Linked DNA regions of Homo sapiens: regions 1, 3, 4, 5 and 6 are each linked to region 2. Evidence: promoter capture Hi-C in 16 types of primary human blood cells and fetal thymus (Javierre and others, 2016). All regions are on one chromosome and are shown on one strand. The core of a region is centred on a gene start or on the middle of the fragment in contact, and the rest is flanking DNA. Distances in the headings are between cores, read along the strand shown.

Region 1 (3,946 bases), core at 1,071-3,570, 140 kb before region 2:
TGTAACCTCAAAATCTTGGGCTCAAGCAATCCTCCAACCTCAACCTCCTGAGTAGTTGGGACTACAGGCGCACACCACTACACCAAGCTAATTTTGTCTATGTTGCCCAGGTTGGTCTCGAACTCCTGGCCAATCCTCTGGCCTTGGCCTTCCAAAGTGCTGGGGATTATAGGTGTGAACCACCATGCCAGACCTAAACCCTAATTTCTTTATGTTTTGTAAATAAGAGTGCCACTTCTTACTAGTGACAATGGTATATAATCTTTATAACTAGATTTTATTATTTTCTATTGTTTTGAAGACAGAGTGATTTCCCATCATTTTTGGGGTTTAATGTTCTTATCTTAATCTGCATTAATTAAGCTGGCATTCCCATGGCTTAAATGAAGCCCACAAACCTGAAGGTAAGGAAGCAGCTGGAGTAAGCCATACACATTGGGGTTTGTTTTGAAGGATGGAAAATAGGCCAGGTTGGACAGAAGCTAGAGCTAGGTAGTGGGGAGGAGGTACACATAAGAAACTTTCAAAGAGGCTTCACTTAGCAGTTAGATAAGTCCTGAAAGCCAATCAGAAGGGTCCTTCTCCGTGGCTTCTAGGACTAACATGGCCAAGCTCCAAAGTCCTTTGCTAAAAACAGCTGAAGAGAGCCCAATTTTGGAATAAGCCAAGGACTATACACTCTTATATGTATATGTATCATATAATGAAGATTTTTCTATAGCTAATTAGCCAAAAGATAAGCAGGTGCTCAAAGCTGTATTTAAGTTCATACTGAAGTACTACATTTTAAAGCACAATTTATAGATTACAGAAACTGATGACACAAAAACCGCTGCAATCAAGTGCTAGATATACACTATAAACATCGGGAAAAAATAAAGATTACCCAAGCCTATACTCTAGATCACAAAATTTGGGAAAGGGAGCACTAACCATTATTAAATGCAATTCCTTCATGTTATAAATGACTTTAAACCTCTAGGGAAATTTAAGAAAGGTGCCCTAAATCTCAAAATGAGAAAATGATAGTTTTACTACAAAGGTGGAAATGGTAAGGAAAAAAAAATACAAAAGTTAGAAGAATATTCTAAGTAATGTACTTCTAAGTAATGTAATTCTAAGTAAAGTCTGGCTAATGAAGGAAGAGGAAGACAAATAGAAAACTTAATACAGTAAAAATGAAAAAATGCATATGTGCATACTAAGTTTAAAGATTACTTTGAAATTACTATAGTGAACTCTTCAGCAGACCACTTTTCGGAAACAACACAATAAATTCATAAATCTGGGGCTAATGATCTCTCCACAAATTCTGTCCTCTATCATCACAAGTGTCCTGTAAGAAGCGTCCATGCCGAAAACAGAGCTGAACGTCCCAAAATATTGGCGTTTTTGCCTCAGCTGTGCACATCCATTCTCATGGGAACACAAAACTGACAGAACTTCTTCATGACTTGTCAATTAACAAGATCGCGCCAGCCCAACTGCTAGCAGTACCGTGTGCCTGCCACCTGTTAGCTGCTCTTGAGAGAGCCCCAAAACTGAGGTAAAGCGAAGAACTAGGAACGCCTTTGTTGTACCCTAACTATGGAAGCTACCAGAGTTCAGTCTAACCCGGCGCCTTAAGGCAAAACTTCCCCCAGGCTGGGGAAGTCTTCCCATTTCGGGGCTTTGGCAAAGCTCTCCTCTAGCTAAGGACAGGCAGAAGAACCCCAGGAGAAGCACTGTCACCTACTGGTCCCAGGAGGAAGGATCAAAGCTGAAGAAAGTTGGGGGACAAGGAACTAGGACCCTAGGGAGAGGCTCAGTTTCTCGTGGTGAAGAGTGAGCACAATGAGAAGCTGGGCCGTCTCGCTAGGTGAAAGAACGCTGAGATCCCAGATCAGGGGTAGGGGAAAAGAGGTTCTAAAAGAAGGGAGGAGGAGAAAAAAGGAGAGGCAGTGGCTGAGAGAAGCGCTGAGGCGTAAGGCAAGAAACCGAGGTTGGAAAAGGACTGATGAGGCTGAGGAAAAACAGCGAGGCGACAGAGGCACGGAAGCGCGAGAAGGCTAAGCTGAGGTGAATAAGGCGAGGCCAGCGTGAAGGAAAGGGCTGAGGTGAGTGAAGCACTGCAGTGACAAGGGACAGGCGAAGAGACTCCCACCCACAAGGACCGAGGCAGAACTCTAGACCCATCCCCCTTCACGCTGTGCTCGCCCGGCTGCGCTCAGACCCTGTTGGCAGCTGAGACTCACCCAAAGGCTGTAAAAGCCCCACAACAGGACATGGAGATCAGTCCAGACCCACAGTAGAACCAATCGAGCGGAGGAAACCGCGGCGTTAGCGTGACCCGGATGCGCATCGCTAGGAACCGGAAGTAAGCGGCCAGAGTCACCTCACAATCCACACCTCGTTCCACTAGAAACCTCTGGGCGCATGTGTTGAGTCTGACCGGGCGGGGAAGCTTTTAGGCTCCGCCCACTCCGCCGGCCCGGCGAGCCACGCCCATGGCCACGCCCCTCTTAGTGCCTCGGAGACAAGCAGCTTCTGGGTGAGCGCTAGGCAGTCCTGACGGTACTACAGCCTTCACTTTTAAGGAGGTCTTTAAAAATGCGCGTAATCCCTACCTGGCTAAAAGGAACGTAAGAAGTGTTGGGTGCATTTGGTAGATTTAGAAAAACTGGGAAGGAGAATGAGTGGGAAGTTTTGGAAGACATTTGGGAGGCTAGCCCAAGGTGATCTTTTTTTTTTTTTTTTTTTGAGACGGAGTTTCGCTCTTGTTGCCCAGGCTGGAGTGCAATGGCGCGATCTCGGCTCACTGCAACCTCCGCCTCCCGGGTTCAAGCGATCCTCCTGCCTCAGCCTTTCGAGTAGCTGGGATTACAGGCATGTGCCACCACGCCCGGCTAATTTTGTAGTTTTAGTAGAGACGGGGTTTCTCCATGTTGGTCAGGCTGGTCTTGAACTCCCGACCTCAGGTGATCCGCCCGCCTGGGCCTCCCAAAGTGCTGAGATTACAGGCGTGAGCCACCGCGCCCATCCCTTTTTTTTTTTCTTTTTTTGAGACAGAGTCTTGCTCTGTCGCCCAGGCTGGAGTGCAGTGGCGCGATCTCGGCTCACTGCAACCCCCGCCTCCTGGGTTCAAGTGATCCTCCCACCTCAGCCTCCCGAGTAGCTAAGACTACCGGCGCGCACCACCACGCCCGGCTAATTTTTGTATTTTTCGGTAGAGACGGGGTTTCGCCATGTTGCCCAGGCTGGTCTCCAACTCTGGAGCTCGGTTGATCCCTTGGCCTCCCAAAGTGCTGGGATTACAGGCGTGAGCCCCAAGGTGATCTTTTTATCCCCAAATTTAGTTTATTCTTAATATTATATTAGGCTTACAATTCACTTCGTGCACACTGTTTTCGGAAGCAAAATTCTTAAATGTTTCGTTAATTTTAAATTACAACCCAAGTATGGGCTAGAAGCAAGGTTGAATTCAGGCTTTGTGGAGACTTGACGTTTATTCAATTTGGGGGCCCTCTTTAAAATAATCAAGGCCAGGCACAGTGGCTCATGCCTGAAATCCTAGCACTTTGGGACGCCGAGGTCGACCGGTTGCTTGAGCCCCGGAGTTGGAGATCACCTGGGCAACAAAATTAGACCCTGTCTCTACAAAACAAACAAAGCAAAACAACAACAAAAAAAACCCAGAAAAATTAGCCAGGTGTGGTGGCACGCACCTAACTGAGCCCAGGAGGTAGAGGCTGCGGTGAGTTATGATTATGCCACTGCACTCCAGCCTGGGCAACAGAGCGAGACTGTCTAAAAAAAAAAAAAATCCAAAATTACAAATACAATATTAGATATAAAAGTGAACCTTTTATAATGAGAAAAATTACAAACATTTTTATTAGCTCACAAATACCACGAATAACAAAATCCAGAAAAAAAACTATTTTTTCTACATTTTTTGACTGTATAT
Region 2 (3,808 bases), core at 1,237-3,736:
CCTTGTCTCTATTTTTTAAAAAAATGACTGAATTACCCTTCCTTAGATATTTTTTCCCATCCAATTCAAACAAAGGTTGCCATTTGGTTTTTTGTTTGTTTTTGTTTTTTGAGAAGGGGTCTTGCTCTGTCACCCAGGGTGTACTGCAGTGACAGAAGACAGATCATGGCTCACTGCAACCTCCACCTCCTGGGCTCAAGTCATCCTCCAGTCCTCTTGCCTCAGCCTTCCGGGCAGCTGAGACTACAGGCAGTGCCTGCCAGGTGTCTAGACCTAAATGTAATACTTTGGAGAAACTACTATGTAACAAGTACTGTTACAATTGCAAGAAATAAAAGATGGATGTGATATGGTCCTTAACCCTGAATAGCTCACAGCCTGCTGGGGGGCAACTCCATTCCTCAAACCCATGCCACCCTACAGAGGTCCCATCTTCTGCCTTGTTTAACCCTGAGAAAGATGCTTCTGCTTTATTTTTTTATGAAACGCTTTCTTATACAATAACTTTAGTCCTCATGAAAATGTTTATTTTAAAATTAACTCTCTTGCCAAGCACAGTGGCTCATGCCTGTAATCCCAACACTTTGGGAGGCCAAGACGGGAGGATTGCTTGAGCCCAGGAGTTTAAGACCAGCCTGGGCAACACAACAAGACCCTGTCACAACAAAAAAAATACAAAAATCAGCCAGGCATGGTGGCCTGAGCTTGTAGTCCCAGCTACTGATGTGGGAGAATCACTTGAGCCCAGAAGGCAGAGGTTGTGCATTCCAGCTTGGGCAAGAGTGAGGCTCTGTCTCAAAATAAATAAATTAAATTAAATTAACTCTCTTGTTTTTACAGATGTGGAATATGAAGATCTGCAAAATTAATGTCTTGAACAAATTCAATCCCGGCCAGGCGTGGTGGCTCAAGCCTGTAATCCCAGCAACTTTGGGAGGCCGAGGCGGGAGGACCTTAAGTCAGGAGATCAAGACCAGTCTGGCCAACATGGTGAAACCCCCGTCTCTACCAAAAATACAAAAATTAGCCAGGCGTGGTGGCAGGCGCCTGTAATCCCAGCTACTCGGGAGGCTGAGGCGAGAGAATCACTTGAACCAGGGAGGCAGAGGTTGCAGTGGGCCAAGATCGTGCCACTGCACTCCAGGCCTGGGCAACAAGAGCAAAACTCCGCCTTAGGAAAAAAAAAAAGAATTCAATCCCAGTCCAGTCAGGTTAACTGTCTTCCAAGAATTTTTTTCTTTTTTAGACAGTCTCTCGCTCTGTCACCCAAGCTGGAGTGCAGTGGCGCGATCTCTGCTCACTGCAAGCTCTGCCTCCCGGGTTCACGCCATTCTCCTGCCTCAGCCTCCCGAGTGGCTGGGACTACAGGCGCCCACTACCAGGCCCAGCTAATTTTTTGTATTTCTAGTAGAGACGGGGTTTCACCGTGGTCTCGATCTCCTGACCTCGTGATCCGCCCGTCTCGGCCTCCCAAAGTGCTGGGATTACAGGCGTGAGCCACCGCGCCCAACCAAGAATTTTTTTTTCTATCCTTTTTTTCCTTCTTTTTAAAGAGACAGGGTCTCACTCTCGCCAAAAATGGAGTGCAGTGGTCCGATCATAGGTCACTGCAGCCTCGAGCTTTTGGGTTCCTCCCGCCTGGGCCTCCCAAAGTGCTGGGATTACAGATGTGAGCCACTGTGCCCAGCCCCTTGCAATAATTTAATCTGAGATTCTGACTCCAAACGGCATGCTTTTATTTCATTTATTCATTCATTCACTCAACAAATATTTACTGAGCATCCACTACATACTATGCGCTGGAGATGCGATAGTAAAGGAGGCTCAGAACAAGCCCACTGCTGTCCTAACATACCACCAAGCAAGCTGTAACCTACTGTAAGGCCCCAAACTATTTCACCTCCCTAAAGCTCAGGTTCGTCATCTGTAAAATGGGGGTAATATAATGCCTAACTGGCATGATACACAGTGCCTGGCGTTCGTGAATGGCAGAAACAACCACTAAAACAACTCATTACAAAGGACTAAGAAACGTCTCGGGGGCCAAGAAGGCTAAGTCACTCCCAGGAAGGGCCCAGCCTCTGCCAGCCCCCGACTCCGCGGACTTGGGGCACTCTGCCCGCGCGCCCGCACTATGTTGGACACACTCGCCACCTCCCTCGATAGATCGAACACCATTCCCTCTTTCGTTGCCCCGGGGGATCTCCCAGCAGCTATCAGTGGGAGACGCTCACACACCCCCAGACCCCCGCCACCCCGAAGACTGGACTGAAGGAATCGCCCAACGGTCCAGGCCAGGCGGCCACTGCCTTTGTCCACTGGGAAAGCAGATCCGGGAGCGGTCGCCCCGGTGCCACTACTCCTCACTCTGTGTTCACCTCACTGTAGAAGGTCATAAATGCTTCCTCGGTGCTGCCTCCGCCGCCTGAAGTCCCGCTCTCTCCTGAAGCCGCCATTTCCCCGGCCCAGCCACCACGTGACCCTTCTGCGCAGGCGTCGCCTCACGTGATTCTTACAGGTCCGCTCCTCTAGCCCCGCCTCCCGTCTGAGAGGTTCTTAAAGGGCTCGCAGCCCAGCCAGGCACTTTAAAAGTAGGTGGGCTTTTTAAAATTTAAACGAATTACACATAACATATAATTAACCACTTTAAAGTAAATAATGTGCTTAAGTTATTGTTAGGTAAAAAATAATAAGAAGAATAAAAGAAAAAGTGAATAATTCAGTGGGTTTATTTATTTATTTATTTTTGAGACAGGATCTCTGTCGTCCAGGCTGGAGTCGAGTGGTGCAATCACAGCTCACTGCAGCCTCGACCTCCCAAGCTCAAGCGATCCTCTCACTTCAGCCTCCCGAGTAGCTGGGACTGCAGGCGCGCGCCACCATGCCCGGCTAATTTTATGTACTTTTGTGGAGACGGGGTCTTGCCATGTTGCCCAGGCCTCCCAAAGTACAGGAATTACAGGCATGAGCCACCGCGCCGGACCGGCTCAGCTGTCTTCAGAACATTCACAATGTTCTGCAACCACCATGTCTACCTGGTTCCAAAATAGTTTCATCACCTCAAAAGGAGACTTAGTATCTACTTTTTTTTTTTAGACGGAGTCTCACTCTGTCACCCAGGCTGGAGTGCAGTGGCGCCTCCCCGGTTCCAGAAATTCTGCCTTAGCCTCCCGAGTAGCTGAGATTACAGACAAACGCCACCATGCCCCGCTAATTTTTATATTTTTAGTAAAGCCGGATGTTCACCATGTTGGCCAGGATGGTCTACGATCTCCTGACGTCGTAATCCGCTCGCCTTGGCCTCCCAAAGTGCGGGGATTACAGGCGTGAGCCACCGCGCCTGGCCGAGGAGACCTAGTACCTATTAAGCAGTTACTCCCTATTCGCCCCCTCTCCCCAGTCCCTGAAAACAAGCAATCTGTGTTCTATCTATATGGATTTACCTATTCTGGATATTTCACATAAATGGAGTTAAACAATATGTGAATACGTATTTCACATAAATGGAATTAAACAAAATACCAGGTAGGGCTGCTATTTTCTCAACTAAAATATAATCAATAAAGCCAGTTTTACTATTTCATAGAAAACAAAGAAGGTTTTGTTTTGTTTTGTTTTTTTGAGGCAGAGGCTTGCTCTGTTGCCCAGGCTGGAGTGCAGTGGCATGATCTTGGCTCACTGCAACCGCCGCCTCCCAGGTTCAAGCAATTCTCCTGCCTCAACCTCCTGAGTAGCTGAGATTACAGGCGCATGTCACCACGCCCGGCTGATTTTTGTATTTTTAGTAGAGACGGAGTTAGTCAGGCTG
Region 3 (4,148 bases), core at 366-2,865, 210 kb before region 2:
CACCACTGTACTCCAGCCTGGGCGACAGAGTGAGTGAGACTCCATCTTAAAAAAAAAAAAAAAAAAAGCAAAACCAGTATAATAACCAGAATAGTAATGTTAACTGTAGCCAGGAAAAGATCCAAGGAGACAGTGGTGATGATAATTGCTGTAGAGAAAACAAATCAAAACAAAAATAAAAAACTCTAGAACACTGAAGGTGTTACCAGTGATCTCCTAAGCATAGTTAACATAACAGTGATCAAGAATAGACCACAAAAAATTCATAAAGAATGAGTTGTTCATTCCATAAATATTTATCAAGTGCCTTTGATGTAAGTGGCAGGCATTTTTCTATACTCTGGGAATATGTAAATGAACAAAACAGAAAAATAAATCCCTACCTTCATGCAGCTTACATTCTAGTAGGGGCAGAGTAGGAAGTGAAGACAAATACAGTAAAGAAACAGACATAACCATATTCTAGAGAGACCCAGCAGAGGAACAACAAAAACTAGACAGTAACCTAAGATGCCATCCAGGGTCCGAGTTCTGAAGGTATCCAGAAAAAAGTCTCCACAGCCCATACTATTCCTGGTTGTTTCTTAGATAGGCAAATTGACCATGGAAAGAAGAAAGAGCAAGCTGGATGAACTCTATCAAACAGGATGAACAAAGGTAGCATCATACCTGGTTTGAGATGCTGGCTACTGCTGCTGCTGGAATATTGGCAATTGTAGAAGAAGTAGATATCAGGCTGGCATTTGTGCTTGAAGCTAGAGGATTGATGGGGTTAAAAGATATTAAAGATATTATGTAAAAGGTTAGAAGAAACTGAAAATAGATGTGTTTTAAGTGAACAGATTTATAAGGAGATAAACAACATTGGCAAAGGAAACAAACACTCGTTTTGCTTTTTTGTGTGGGATAGCTACATTTACACTTGGTTAAAAACAAAACATTTGAAACATCTTTCTGTTTCAACTTGAGTCTTCAATTCTTCTTATTAAAGGCCTAAAAGGATATATATTCAATTCACAGCTCATACTAATAATATCAATGAAATCACAGCTAAATCCAATTCCTCCAGCCCATCTTCTCCAGAGGCTGAAAAATGACTCACCTGCAATGTGACCTACTGTAAAGCAGTAGAACTCTGGTAAATCTTACACTGTGATATTGTTTGCTGTCACTTGCCCCAAGTTACGCCTTTCCTAATACAACATAATTACATGAGAAATAGAGCTGGTCCTCCAAATTCCAAAGCATTTAGAATTGCTTCTTGAGTTCTACTCAAATAATAGATTACTAATGTGGATCAATAAACACAATGACATAGCATTTAGAGACTTTAACAATGAGCCTGGAAAAACTCAGAAAATATTAAATATTACTCTGGTCAGATAAAAATGTACCTTATATGATACTTGGGCTGTCTTAAGTAATTTGAGGCCAGGTGTGGTGGCTCATGCCTGTATCCCAGCACTTTCGGAGGCCGAGGCAGGCAGATCATTTGAGGCCAGGAGTTTGAGACCAGCCTTGCCAACGTGGTGAAACCCCATCTCTACTAAAAATATAAAAATGAACTGGGTATGGTGGGCACGGGCCTGTAATCCCAGTTACTCAGGAGGCTGAGACATGAGAATCGCTTGAACTCAGGAAGTGGAGGTTGCAATGAGCCAAAATCGCATGACTGCACTACAGCCTGGGTGACAGAGCAAGACTCTGTCTCAAAAAAAAAGAAAAGAAAAAAGAAAAAAAAGAAAGAAAATGCTGATTTCCATTCACATAAAACAATAAAAATAAAGACAAGTAATTTGGGTTAAGTTTTATACTTCTTCTGTCATAGGTTCATTCTACTAGGGTTTTAATCAAAATCTCAATGACTAGCACTAACCAGTGACTTTTCTCAGGTGAACAATGTAACTGATATTATCAGTACTGTTCTCAAACTCCTTGTCCTCATTTATCATAAACACACTTAGACATGGTTCCTACTGCAGGTACACACACCATATGGGTTCACCATCAGGTAGACCTGACTAACTGACTACCTGCCCCATTAACAAAGTCCCCCAGAGAGAAAATTAGTAAGAAAACTTCCATTGAGAACAGGGCAGGAGAACAAATGCAATAGAAACTTAAGTGCTCTGGTCAAAATTAGATAATTTTCATCCCTTTCCCTAAGGGTACTCGGCTTAGAAGACAATCCAGAAGACAGTAAGTTCAGTTACAGCTATTGCTGCAACCCCAGCTTTAAGATGAAGAACCTAGGACAAAGAAGAATTAAAGTAACTTGTCCACAGCAGCAAAAATAATGGAAGATAACCAAAATGACAACTTGGATCTCCCAATTCTTCATCCAGTGCTTCTTCCTCAGGGTCAGCAGCTAAGCTAGGGTTCAAATTCCCTAACTATGGCCAGGTGCGTGGTGGCTCACGCCTGTAACCCCAGCACTTTGGGAGCCTGAAGTGGGTGGATCACCTGAGGTCAAGAGTTTGAGACCAGCCTAGCCAACATGATGAAACCCCATCTCCACTAAAAATACAAAAATTAACCAGGTGTGATGGTGTGCACCTGTAATCCCAGCTATGCAGGAGGCTGAGGCAGGAGAATCACTTAAACTCGGGAGGCAGAGGTTGCAGTGAGCTGAGATCGCGCCACTGCACTCCAGCCTGGGCGACAGAGTGACTCAGTCTCAAAAAATAAATTAAAAAAAATTAAAACAACAAAAACAAAAACAAATTTCCTAACTATCCAGAGTAACTTTATTTTCTATAGCACGTTTTGCTTCAGGGGAACTAAAGGACTCTTAAGGGCTTACTTTCCTAAACATAACAACTAAATGAAATAGGTTTTATAGCTTTACAGAAGGTATTTTCTTTCAACCAATATTCACCTTCTTTCCTACTGTGGCTTAAGCCATCCTTTTTCCTAAGAGGAAGCATCAAAACATGACAATATACAGGGTAACTGACTCTGTAAATGGTTTTAACCATTCTTGTAGGAAAAGAATTTTGAATGGTTTCCAGATTTTGTTATCAGTACATTATCCTAGGCAGGCCTGCAATAAAACTGAACACAGGTGATTTAAGGTGGGAAATAAAATAAAGAATTGATTTAATCATTTATCTTCCCCAGCAAGTCCATTTTTAGTTCAGTTTTCTTCTGGCCCTGGTCCTGGCATACAATCCTCTTTTTCACCTATTGATCTTTAATTCTGTCCTACCTTCTCCATATCCTTTTTTTCTTTTTTTTGAGATGAGTATCACTCTTGTTGCCCAGGCTAGAGTGCAATGGTAGTCTCGGCTCACTGCAACCTCCGCCTCCCGGGTTCAAGAATCCTCCTGCCTCAGTTTCCCAGGTAGCTGAGATTACAGACATGCACCACCAAGCCCGGCTAATGCTGCATTTTTTTTAGTAGAGATGGGTTTCACCATGTTGGTCAGGGTGGTCTTGAACACCTGACCTCAGGTGATCCACCCACCTCAGCCTCCCAAAGTGCTGGGATTACAGGCATGAGCCACCACGCCCGGCTACTTCTCCATAACTTAATAATGGTGGGAGGTACAACTCAGTCATATCTGATCTCTATGGGGGAAAATGTACTCTGATTGACAAGGTGGTTTTACAAATCTAACAATTTTCAAACCACTTAATGAATTGTACTGGAGGTAAAATGGTAGACCTTAAAAACAACTAGCCATAAACTCTTATTATATCCCGGCTAGAAAGTTTAATGGCTTGATTAGCTAGTTGATAACTCTGAGTTTTTAACAAGTACTGTATTAAAATCACAAATTTCTCTGAGCAATAGTTGGCTTTTATTATAGGGGAACTTGGTCTGCTGACCCAGAAAGTTCATAGGGCTTAATAACACTTTTTTCTCCAACTAAGCCAAATTATTTCTAACATGTGCCACTCATTCATTCAGCAAACCCATTAAGTATATCAGGGTCAACTATGTGCCTAGAAACCATTTCAGCCACTGAAGGATAAAATAGTAAGACAAAGTCCTGGCCCTCAAGGAGTTTAAATTCTAGTGAGGGAAGTTAGTCAATAATTAAGTAATTTTTTTAGGCTCTTATAACCACCATAGAACCCAAGGCAAACTCGCCTAAAAATGTATACAACCACTGCCTGCCCTACCCCACATACAGCTATGACTA
Region 4 (3,898 bases), core at 297-2,796, 240 kb before region 2:
TAGATCCCAATATGCTAAGAGTGAGATTCTGTGCTTAAGAAAATATAGCTGCTAAGACATGATAAGTAATTACTGGTTAGCCACACGTATAAGAGGAAAAAAAACAACTGGGGTTCAGAGCAGAATATAAACTCTTCAGACCAGACTTTTCCCTGAAAAGAACAGTAAAGTGTCATAAGAATTGTGCCCTCCATGACCATGTGACACCACAACATGTACAACTGGATGCTGTACCTGAAAGTGAAACCTTCCAATATTCTCAGCTCTACCTGACTAGGTCCTTATTAAGGTGGTATGTCCAGTTCTACTCCGTATTTGAGAACTGGTGGATAGAACACTGAATTTTGGGGTAGTTACTGGGAAGAACATTTTACTTATAAAAAGGGATAAACATTCAAACAAACTAATATGAAAAGATGTGACAGGTTTTTTTCTTATAAGTCTTTAAGCTAGATAAATTTTTGGATCTTTCTTAGCTAAGGCTAGTGGGCCAGAACAAAGAGGAATGAGGAGCCTGAGCAAGCATTTTGCCACTGAGATCTCCTTGGTTTAACTTTCACTATAATAAAATGTGGAAGACTACCTTACAGAGATGGGATCTCCCTGTGTTGTCCAGGCTGGTCTTGAACTCCAAGACTCAAGTGATCCTCCTGCCTCGCGCTTCTAAGATGCTGCAATTACAGGTGTGAGCCACTGTGCCTGGCTTGCTACCCATTCTTTAATGTTCTGCTTTAATGCTACTCCACTGAGAAACCTCTCCAGTGTTGGCACTACCCACTCCCTATCCCAACAGAATTCTTTCTTCTCGTGCTCCACGGCATTTTCTATTGTCACCTTCTCACACTATACATCACGGTTAACTATGTTTGTTTCTATGTCCTCTAACAGGTTGTGAGCTCTTTCAGAGATATATTCTATTTATCTTTGTTTTCCTCCAAACCTAGACAGACAGATCTTGCACATAACAGGTGTACTGGTGTTCAAGAATCATTATGTTTATCACCTCAAGTCTTGGCCATTGTCATCAGAAGCCACATCTTCCACATGTACCTGGTCACACTCCTGTTAAAAGACAAAACATATTACTTCAGTCCAGGGAGTAGAAGTGATATTACCATCATGACATACTATAAAAAGACCATATACAGTGGCAGGATAATGAAATGCCTTATGGAATCTCTTATGTGTGGGTGATCACTCTCACACCCCTTGCTGTCCAATTCCTCTTAAGACCTGATTCACATCCCAGTCTTCATGAGTTCTGTAACTATCCCATCCCTTGTTTCTACTCCTATCTCAATATTTCATTTCTCCAACAGCTCATGGGAATAAGCACAAGCTCCCTTACACTTCAAATGTTCTTATGTCCTACACCAGACTGTAAGTCCTATTACAATGCAGGTCTCTTGGGGCAGGAGCCACATCTCACATCTCCTTTGCATCTCTCTGATCTAGTCCAGTATCCTTACGTAGGTTGTGCCCAATAAATTTTTATAGACAAAACAGACGCTGGTAGTGTGGTATCAAAACCGAGAATGACTGAAATTTCTAACTTCAAAGTCAGGAGTTAGAAGAGGTCATCTAAATCAATCTCCTCATGTTTTAAAAGTGAGGTGAAATGATTTTCTCAAAGTCATACAATTAGTGAGTGGCAGAAAGAGACTAGAAATAACCCAGGTTTTCTGCTTCTTTTTTTCCCCCGCTTCTAATCCAAGGTTCTTTCCACCAAGCCCATGCTACTACTGACATAAAATGCCGCCCACTACCTAACTGATGGATGTACTCCTCTGATACCACTTAGGGTACCTGCATCAGAATCCTCTGGGGAAGTTTTTTAAAAATGCATATTCTTGGGTCCATCCCAGACCTACTTGAATCAGAATTTCTGAGAGTGAAGTCCTAGAATCTCCACTTTTAAGAAGCTCCCCAGGTGATTCTTATGCCCCCTAAAGTTGAGAAGCACTGACCTGGGGGGCAGGAACACATTCAGGTCAAATTCTTCACAGAACTTTCAGTTCCTGAGTGAGGACTATGTCTAGAAAATCATTACAAATACAATTGGCAATAATTATTGGCATGTAGTAGGTTTTCAATAAATGTTTGCTGAATAAAAACTATGATGTCCTAATTTATCAACATATGAAGTTGAGGGAAGATTAAAGCATTATGGAGTTTAGACAAAAGTACTGGAGCTCGGGGCACTATTAATTTATTGAAGAATTGTCTGTTGAGTAGAACAGACGTTTATTTTAAAAGAGATGGGATTACTTTGTGTTGGCTGGGTGCAGTGCTCACGCCGGTAATCCCAGTACTTTGGGAGGCCAAGGTGGGAGGATCACTTGAGCTCAGGAGTTTGAGACCAGCCTGGGCAATACAGTGAAACCCCATCTCTATTACTAAAAAAAAAAAAAAGATTAAAAAAATGATTACTTTGTGTTTATAAAATACTATCTTTTTATTTTTTATTTTAAAGACAGAGTCTCTCTCTGCTGCCCAGGCTGGAGTGCAGTAGTGCAATCTTTGCTCACTGCAACCTTCCCCTTCTGGGTTCAAGCAATTCTCCTGCCTCAGCCTCCTGAGTAGCTGGGATTACAGGTGTGCGCCACCATGCCCGGCTAATTTTTGTATTTTTGGTAGAGACGGGGTTTCACCATGGTGCTCAGGCTGGTCTCGAACTCCTGACCTCAAGTGATCTGCCCGCCTCGGCCTCCCAAAGTTTTGGGATTACAGGCATGAGCCACCACGCCCAGCCTATAAAATCCTATATTACTTTACTTTAAAATTTTCACTATTTTTAAAACTAGGTAAAACATGTACTACACAGCTCAAAATTCAAAGGACATGAAGTGAAAAGTGTGCTCCCTCCCACCTTTGTGTCCTGGCAACTCATCCCTCTCCATAGATGGTAATCAGTGTTGGTAGTTTCCTGTGTAGGATGACTGCATAACTGAGGCCCAGAATGGGAACATAACTTTCCCTATGTGAGATTCACATTCTGGTCTTCTGACTCCCTGTCCTGTGCTCCTTCTGCTACACCATGTTCACCTTAAAGGTGAACTCAAATGTCAAAGCCAAAAAATTTCACCATGAAGCTCTTAGTGTTTCCTGGTTTTTCTGGCACCTAACTATAAAATTATTCTGAATATCAAGGTTAACCTACATATGAACAACAAATATGTATAAAATATGATGGGTTAGAGTAACCATTTATAGATTCGACAAATCAGGAGACTATCCTTTAAGAATGTAAAATGGAAGAAAAGTCAAAACATAATTGAGAGTACAAATAATCAAACTCACTTTATATATATTATTTAATATAGATTATTAAGTTAGAATATTGGTTTATATGTCAGTGTTTTGCCTGATGGGTTGGCCTTTCCCCTAGTGCTAGATCACCTCCAAATAAACTAACAAAAATCAAATTTTTGAGCCAATAAAATTGAATGTCAGAACCAAAACTGTGGTGACCCAACCACAAGTACTATTTCTCTAAGACTATGTATGTATGCCTTAGTGGCCAGCTGGCCTCTCCATATCCACCCTATCTAAACACATATCTTCTAATATAATAAGCAAAAGCTCTAAATAGTTATTGAATGAAGTGTCTCAGTGAAGCACAGAAACAATTTAAAATGCTTACCTCTAAGTCATTGAAAAATAGATGAGTATCAGCCACTTCAAAAATCATTTCTTCCATTGTTAAACCTGAGCCAATCACTACTGTTGGGTCCTAGAAGACAATAAGAAAAAATCAGCTTGACTTGGTAGTCACAGTCCTGGTTCTAATCTTCAAATTTCAAAATTATTTTAGGTCAAGGCCAAAACACACGAGCTCCCAACTGTGCTTCAAACTATCATTGATGCAATTTCATTCACAGTTATGAGAATCCAGGAT
Region 5 (4,020 bases), core at 801-3,300, 250 kb before region 2:
CAGATGAGGATACTCAAAGAGGATAATTGTTCAAATTCACATAGCTGAGACACAGATGGGATTTTAAGTTCTATAGCCAAGACTCTTTCATCTATTGTTTCCTATATTAAGAAGGGGTGACCTGGGCCAGGCGTGGTGGCTCAAACCTGTAATCCCAGCACTTTGGGAGGCCGAGGCAGGCGGATCACAAGGTCAGGAGTTCGAGACCAGCCTGGCCAATACGGGAAACCCCGTCTCTACTAAAAATACAAAAATTAGTTGGGCATGGTGGCGGGTGCCTGTAGTCCCAGCCACTTGGGAGGCTGAGGAAGGAAAATTGCTTGAACCCAGGAGGCGGAGGTTGCAGTGAGCCAAGACTGTGCCACTGCATTCCAGCCTGGGAGATAGAGTGAGACTCTATCTCAAAAACAGAAAAAAAAAGAAAAAAGAAAAAAAGAAGGGGTGACCTGAAGTTGGGACCTGTATAGTGGTGGGGTTAACATCAGAACAATCTTTCCAGGGCTCAAAGGCAGGAAAGACTTTCTCTACAGAAACAGCTATTGGTTGTACTGTCTGAGAACTTGAAGCATGGAAAAGAAAGAATGATTAGCCTTTTTGCAGTCAAGTCTGATGCTTGAGAAGGCACTGTCTTTGAAGATGGAAGATGGGGCACATCTCAGGTTTAATGATGGGATCCCTGTAGAAGGGCTTAAAGATTTTAAGATTCTTGAGTGACAGGGAGGAAGAGGAAGGGATGGATCTAAAAACTTAAGAGGAAAAACTCCATCTGGAGAAAAAAAAGACCCTCTTTTTCTTTAAAGAAAAATGGGAGAGGAAGAAAGAGAAAATATTATAAATGCATAATAGATTGCTAAGATTTTGTAGTTTTTCCCATTTTTCTCATTACTCGATGTACAACCACATAGACTATTTTTCTTTACCATGGTTACCTGTTTGGCTGCAATTTCTTCATCTCGTCCATCTCCAATCACTACATATGTGACTTTCTTTCCAAACCTTGACACAATTCTCTCAAAGCAGCTCTCCTTACCTGATGAGAAAAAGAAATTTCCTGTTAGAATACTCTTCTCTTCTTTTCAAAACCAAAGAAGAGGGCTGCTGCTAGGTTCACCTGCCTGTGCTTAGGTGGACTAAGTGACAGCCCATGTAGTTTGCTTGCTGGGGAGTAGGGATGGGAGCTAGAGATCCAGTAGACCCTCTGCCCAAAGAATGTGAAGTTGTGCCATTAAAATAACTTGGCCGGGCATGGTGGCTCAAGCCTGTAATCCCAGCACTTTGGGAGACCGAGGCGGGCGAATCACCTGAGGTCGGGAATTTGAGACCAGCCTGACCAACATGGAGAAACCCCGTCTCTACTAAAAAACAAAATTAGCTGGGCATGGCGGCGCGTGCCTGTAATCCCAGCTACTGGGGAGGCTGAGGCAGGAGAATCGCTTGAACCCGGGAGGCGGAGGTTGCAGTGAGCCGAGATCATGCCATCGCACTCCAGCCTGGGCAACAAGAGCGAACTCTGTCTCAAAACAAACAAACAAACAACCCAAAAACTTATTTTAACCTTCACGTTGAGGGTGAAGTCCCTAAGATCTTAGTGTGAGGGAATTTCTATAAATGGGAAAGATTAATAGGTTTAGTGACTTGCCCCTAGATCACAAACAAGCAAGTAGCTAGAACTTGGGGCCCCTGACTCCAAATCTAGGCTCTGGTCATTGTGTCATAATGAATGAATGATTTTTGGGGTGAAATGTTTTAGGGTAGAAAAGAGAAGTGAAAACACAAGGCCCTGATTTCTTGTTAGAAACAATAACAAACAAAAAGCCATTTCCCTCCAATTCTTCATTTCCCAGAAACAGTCCTGGGTATAGGCCTTACGTCTTTCAGTGAGAGAACAGCCCCAGAATAGAACTGAGAACAGTGACCAATAAATATGGCATCAACATTTGTCATATCTGGAACCTCCTTACTTACTATACCTTGTAGTTGTAACCAAGATACTGCATCACTGAAATTGACCTTGGGAAATGGGTGATTTAAATCCATTTCTCAGAACTGCAGACAGTTTTGAGAAACATGGCAGTGTATCAAAACTCAAATCCCATCTGCAACCAACACCTAAAACATACACAGATCATACTGCTGTGGGAAAGATACTTTATTTGTATAAATAAAAAGAAGTTATATCCCTTGCTCTTTTTATCTCCCTGCTTCTGCCACCTTCTTCAGTTAAACAAGGTCCTAACTTTGGCTTTCTTCTTCATCCTGCTCTATTAACCTTCTTGTTCTTTCCCCTTGCCCAACAGAGTGACTTAGCACCAGGGTTCCTGTGTAAATAAGATAAAGCTGCCTCTTCCTCAAGACATTTGACTGCCATCTGCTGGAAAATCACTGTAATATATAAATATACAAATCTAAGATAACTGTAACATAATTGGCCAGAACTTATACTTCCATACGCAGAAGTCCTACTTGGCACAGAAGTTGTGCAGATATGTAACTGCAAATCTTTGACATCCTTAACCCAGTGGCACTTCAAAACAGACGGACTAGTCAACTGGACCAGACACTAGATCACTCTGGGCTCAGCTGGCCACTTACAATACAAGGCTTGGCTTAGGTGCACTTGGGTCTCTTTTAGTGCTAATATTTTACAATAGAATTGTCATGCCTTACATTCATATGAGGGATTCAATCAATGTTTGCTGAGTAAATTCATATTAATCTCACAAATGATTCAGTGGAGGACTGTAGTCCAGGTCTTATGCCTCAATTCAGTTCAAACATTAAACCATTCAACTAATAATAAATTCTTATTATGTTCATGGTGTTGAAGAGTTCTTTAATTCCATTTCACCCATTACAGCTTTACAAACTAAGCCAACCTCCACCAGATGCACAGTCTACTATGATCTGTCTGTAGCAAAAAACTTTTTTAAGTGAGTCAGTTTGACTTTCTTGTAAGACTCAACAAAGGCAGTAACTCATATTTTGAGGATAAGAACACAGACATTTTCACTGTCCTGGCATGCAATGATCAAGGATGAAATATACTCTGTAATGTCTCCTTTAAAAGGATTAAGAGGCCAAGAGAGTTATTAACAGCTCAAAGTAAAGAAGCAGCTCCATGAAAACAGGACTCACTCCAATACAGTTGGTAAAATACTTCCATTTCTGGATATGAGCTTTCCTGTTCAGGAGGATGAGGCCAATGATTAATCAGTTTACCATATGTCAAGCAATTGAAGCTGGTGAACTGTAAGATCAGCCAAATCTTTGGAGAATATTAGTCCCTGGGTTTTCTCTATTAAAATATTTCTAGCCAGGAGCGGTGGCTCAAGTCTGCAATCCCAGCACTTTGGGAGGCCTAAGGCAGGAGGATTACTTGAGCACAAGAGTTTGAGATTAGCTTGGGCAACACAGTGGGACCTTTTCCCTACAAAAAATTAAAAAATTAGCTGGGTATGGTGGTGGAACACGCCTGAAGTCCTGGCTACTCAGGAGGCTGATGTGGGTGGATCGCTTGAGCGTGGGAAGGTTAAGGTTGCAATGGGCTATAATCGTGCCACTGCACTCCAGCCTAGGTACCAGAGTGAGACCCTGTCTCAAGAAAACCCCCCAAAACAAAAAAAACTTCTGACATTTTCAGAAATTATTTTGAGAATTCTCTTTAATGTCCCCAAATCACAGAATGGCCATTAAGAGAACCATATTTTGCTATCATTTCAGAGGAAGTGAAAAAGTATTTCTTCTCCTTGCTCCCATTTCACAGTTCTGTGAAGAAAAGCCTCAAGCCTCCTACTGTGGTTACCATAGCACCAGATCCCACTGCAGCTTTGCAAATTAGCTCTGGATGAACTGAGACTGAGGAAAAATACCAAATAAGCACACTTACTGACAGAGGGAATGAGATCATTTCCATTAGCCTGATGAGCCTGCGGGTGCCAGGTCTCAGTATAATAAGCACTACAGAAAATCTGTCTTTCAGATGTGGGAGGCTCAGTGAGTGCTCTGGGTTCCTATGATATA
Region 6 (3,830 bases), core at 178-2,677, 200 kb before region 2:
AGGAGGTAGTCCATACGTTTGGGTTGCCTGAGGGTAGACAGCATAGGGTTGAGTCTGCTGTAGTGTCTGGTATTGAGTCTGTCCAGGGTAAGCAGTTTCCGAAACAGGAACTGAGAGAATATGTGCATAAGGTCTGGAAAATTTCATGAAAACAAAAACTTTTGTGTGATTTACTTTAGTAACGAAAAATAGGTAAAATAGCTACCACCACTAACAGCAAAGAATCTGCAACAAGGAGACTAATCTTCCACATAAAATGGCTCTTTTCAAAAATTTTTTATTTTTGAGACAGAGTCTTGCTCTGTCGCCCAGGCTGGAGTGCAGTGGCATGATCTCAACTCATTGCAGCCTCTGCCTCCCCGGTTCAAGCAATTCTTCTGCCTCAGCCTCCCAAATACCTGGGATTACAGGCACCCACCACCATGCCTGGCTAATTTTTGTATTTTTAGTAGAGACGGTGTTTCACCATGTTGGCCAGGCTGGCCTCGAACTCCCGACCTCAAGTGATCCACCCACCTTGGCCTCCCAAACTGCTGGGATTACAGGCGTGAGCCACTGCGCCCGGCCTAAAATGGCTCTTATGATCAGAAAGTAGAAGTCTTTCCTCCTTTCTACGTTCTCCTATCATCAACCCAAGGAACAATTTTATGAAAAATTTAATAGTTCCAAACATCCCTCCAAGTTCCAATTATCCTACAAACATTTCTAGTGTGCTACATGCATGGCCCTATGTGAGACACAAGGATGGATTAAACTTATTCATGCTCTTATGCCTACATCTAGAATAAAATCCTAATATAATAGAAAACTAAGAGAACAAGATTGGCAATTGGCTCTCATTCTCCACCCTGCCCCTTGAACCAAACTAAAGTTCTGAGAGGGAAAGTGAGACTGGAAAAGCGGGTGAGGCTGGTGGAGAAAAGGCAAGCAAACACATCAAAAAACGGAAGTAGAGATGGGTTCCAATATCCTCAAATCAAGTCTACAAAACAGAACCCAGGTAAGTAACAAAATCTGGGAAGTTCCAGACAGGACTCAATCTCCTCAATGATATTTAAGTCAGGGCATACTGCCACTAGTTGGTGCCACCATATCAGGGATAGCTAGAGATTTCAGCAGTGAAACTCCTGGGACTTTACACTAGCTAGCAGATATAATTGTTTCATCCATGATATTGCACTGAATTTTTAGATACCAATTATCTCATTTGGTGAGTTACACTGTATATATAAGTAAAAAAGAAAATGCTATTTGTACCATGTAAGCATAATAAAATATAGCAGGGGGTGTTTTAAAGGGGAAATTTTTTTTTTCACCTTTGGGGGAAGAGGAAAATGAAGAAAGGCCATAAAGAAGTGATATACTAGCTGAGCAGATAAGAGGCACAGAACTGGGAGAGAAAGGGTGTTCTAGGACAAGAAAAAAGTCCTGGAGGGTATAGAGTAAGGAAAGCAAGGGCTTCGGCCTGCAAAGAGCACAGATAACTGAGGGAAGTATATTAAGAGAAGTAGCGAGAGAAAGGAAGCAAAGACCTTGAATGCCAGGCTAAAAGGCAAATCTGAAACTGAGAGCCACTGAAATTATTGAGCAAAGAGTGACAAGATCAGAGCTGTTCTTTAATAAAGATTATTTTGACACTGCTTTGTAAAATGGTTTAGAAAGGGAGGAGAAACTGGAAATGGAGATCCAGTTAAAAAACAGTTCAGATAAGTAATAAAGAGGTCTGAATTAAGATAGAATAATTAAGATAGCTAATAAGGAATTCTGAATGTAGCAGGTATGCAAATACTTTCTGAATGAATAAATGAATTTGGAATCTGCAACATATTAACATCTCAGTACATTCTAAAAAACTGAATTTAAAAATAACTATTCTTCTTAGCCAGATCTGAGTCCAGGAAATAGCTCAGGTTAGAGTTGTTACTCAAGTCACATGGGAATGATTTAAATCTTAGTGACCTTAAATGGATTAATCTCCAGATATGGTAAAGACCATAATGTCCTTTTTCATGCAGAGTCTTTGTAGCCCAAAGCTCAAATGTGTTTTCACATTTAGTATCTAATTTCTTCATAATAATCTCAGAGAATAGGTTCAGTTATTTCACAGAAGAAAGTCACATGAAAATGATTAGCCCAAGGACACCATTAGTGTTAATACCAGATTAAAAATTAGAAGAACTCATTGGGTTGACTTTTTAATTAGTTTATTTTTTAATTAATGAAAATTCAAAAGGTAAAAACAGATATAACCAGGGAAAAGAAAGACAGTTTCCTTTTTATAACAGCCCCATAAAGTATCTCTTGCTTTTGTTACCAATTTCTTTATGTATCCAGCAGCTGTAAGCACATAAGCACATATCCTGGCTTAATAAATGCACTTGTATGTGTCTTTGTATGCATAGGTCCACTCTTTATTACGCACAATAGGTAGCTTGGTATACACACTGTTCTGCACCTACCCACTTTGGAGATGAAAAACCTGGCTGATATTAATGCTGATCTTACCCCATGAAGGCCCAAAACATAACCTCTTAGTGACTAACCCACCAAACCTGTCTAACTTCAAGCCCGGTTCTACTCTGAGGACATTCCTCAATCAAGAAACTGAACACAGGCTGGGCGTGATGGCTCACGACTGTAATCCCAGCACTTTGCGAGGTAGGCAGATCACCTGAGGTCAGCCGTTTGAAAACAGCCTGGTCAACATGGTGAAATCCCATCTCTACTAAAAAATACAAAAATTAGCTGGGCGTGGTGGCATGCCTGTAGTCCCAGCTATCCGGGAGGCTGAGGCAGGAGAATCACTTGAACCCGGGAGGTGGAGGTTGCAGTGAGCCAAGATCGTGCCACTGCACTCCAGCCTGGGCAACAAACAGAGTGAGATTCTATCTTAAAAAAAAAAAAAAAAAAAAAAAAACCGAACACAGATTGGACTGAGAAATTCAGTCTTGTTTTTATTAATCTGTATGCTATATGTCAAGGTACAGGACAGAGAAAATGATCAGAGGTCAATCAATGATATGGTTGATCACTAACACTATTTTGCATGTTCAGTGCCTACTCATTTTAGAGTAAGCTTTTGTGTAAAATGATCCATTGCAGACACCATCTACTTTTTAAAAGGATACTACATAGACTATATTTAGAGGGAATTAAAAATTGGAATGACGATAGAATAAGAGAGGTAAAAATAATTTAAATATCTATTATTTTAGAGGAAAAATAATATTAAATTTTGCAATGAATCTACAGAAAAAGCATATGCATTTTGGAAATAATTATTCAACTTACTTTGCAGAATACATTTGTGAGGTATAATCATTGGATGAGCGAGGGATGTAATCGGTGCATGTCATAACTGAAAGAAAGATAATATCACCAGGTTAAAAAGTTAGAACATTTCGAAAATGGAATGGGAAAACTGCACATCTCACTGTATAGTCTTTCAAACTAATTAACAGAATACAGCTTGGACACCAGATAGAAAGACTATGTGGTAGAAAATATCTCACTTTTTTGTTTATACATGTGTTTATAGACTTCCAGAGGCAGTTAAAAAAAGAAGGGTGGGGTATGGAAAAGAGCTGAAGGTTGGTAAGGATCTCTACCTTTACCCATTACTGATCTAAAATAATAGATGAAGCAACCTTCTAAGCTTTCGGCTATGCTGATAGGCAAACTTAAAAAGCAAGCTTTATGTCTGGAAAACCACATTATTCTACTTCAGCTTATTTGTTCTTTGAGTGCTTACTATATTGAGTAAAAGCCTTAAGAATGACTTGCAGGAAAACAGATTTGGGGGAGGCACCCAATCTTATTTTAAAACCACT

Evidence for each region. Contacts are between HindIII fragments. The CHiCAGO score rates a contact against its expected background, and 5 or more counts as called.
Region 1: a contact is called between the fragment with the promoter of EYA3 here and the fragment with the promoter of DNAJC8 in region 2, in 6 of 17 cell types (M2 macrophages, M1 macrophages, endothelial precursors and 3 more). The highest score is 13.3, in M2 macrophages.
Region 3: a contact is called between a fragment that was not itself captured here and the fragment with the promoter of DNAJC8 in region 2, in 3 of 17 cell types (M2 macrophages, M0 macrophages and M1 macrophages). The highest score is 10.7, in M2 macrophages.
Region 4: a fragment that was not itself captured here is called in contact with the fragment with the promoter of DNAJC8 in region 2 in 3 of 17 cell types (M0 macrophages, M1 macrophages and M2 macrophages); the score reaches 8.4 in M0 macrophages.
Region 5: a contact is called between a fragment that was not itself captured here and the fragment with the promoter of DNAJC8 in region 2, in 3 of 17 cell types (M2 macrophages, M0 macrophages and M1 macrophages). The highest score is 8.4, in M2 macrophages.
Region 6: a fragment that was not itself captured here is called in contact with the fragment with the promoter of DNAJC8 in region 2 in 3 of 17 cell types (M0 macrophages, M2 macrophages and M1 macrophages); the score reaches 10.9 in M0 macrophages.

The regions. Positions count from the first base shown.
Region 1 is chr1:28,086,290-28,090,235 of GRCh38, forward strand. It overlaps EYA3 (EYA transcriptional coactivator and phosphatase 3), which reads right to left and starts at 2,321. Exons shown (of 18, transcript NM_001990.4): 1 at 2,235-2,321. RefSeq lists enhancers at 1,921-1,980, 2,191-2,260. The HindIII fragment of the contact is 6,678 bases long and covers 1-2,441 here.
Region 2 is chr1:28,230,543-28,234,350 of GRCh38, forward strand. It overlaps DNAJC8 (DnaJ heat shock protein family (Hsp40) member C8), which reads right to left and starts at 2,487. Exons shown (of 9, transcript NM_014280.3): 1 at 2,379-2,487. The coding sequence starts at 2,456. RefSeq lists an enhancer at 2,177-2,710. The HindIII fragment of the contact is 12,029 bases long and covers 1-3,808 here.
Region 3 is chr1:28,016,485-28,020,632 of GRCh38, forward strand. It overlaps EYA3 (EYA transcriptional coactivator and phosphatase 3), which reads right to left. Exons shown (of 18, transcript NM_001990.4): 8 at 670-755. Among named protein-coding and RNA genes, the nearest start is that of XKR8, 59 kb to the left of the region's middle. The HindIII fragment of the contact is 5,795 bases long and covers 1-4,148 here.
Region 4 is chr1:27,996,317-28,000,214 of GRCh38, forward strand. EYA3 (EYA transcriptional coactivator and phosphatase 3) reads right to left here. Exons shown (of 18, transcript NM_001990.4): 12 at 3,644-3,733; 13 at 1,004-1,062. Among named protein-coding and RNA genes, the nearest start is that of XKR8, 38 kb to the left of the region's middle. The HindIII fragment of the contact is 7,042 bases long and covers 1-3,898 here.
Region 5 is chr1:27,977,445-27,981,464 of GRCh38, forward strand. It overlaps EYA3 (EYA transcriptional coactivator and phosphatase 3), which reads right to left. Exons shown (of 18, transcript NM_001990.4): 17 at 930-1,030. Among named protein-coding and RNA genes, the nearest start is that of XKR8, 19 kb to the left of the region's middle. The HindIII fragment of the contact is 4,618 bases long and covers 1-4,020 here.
Region 6 is chr1:28,035,548-28,039,377 of GRCh38, forward strand. It overlaps EYA3 (EYA transcriptional coactivator and phosphatase 3), which reads right to left. Exons shown (of 18, transcript NM_001990.4): 5 at 3,292-3,358; 6 at 1-133. Among named protein-coding and RNA genes, the nearest start is that of EYA3, 51 kb to the right of the region's middle. The HindIII fragment of the contact is 3,293 bases long and covers 1-3,074 here.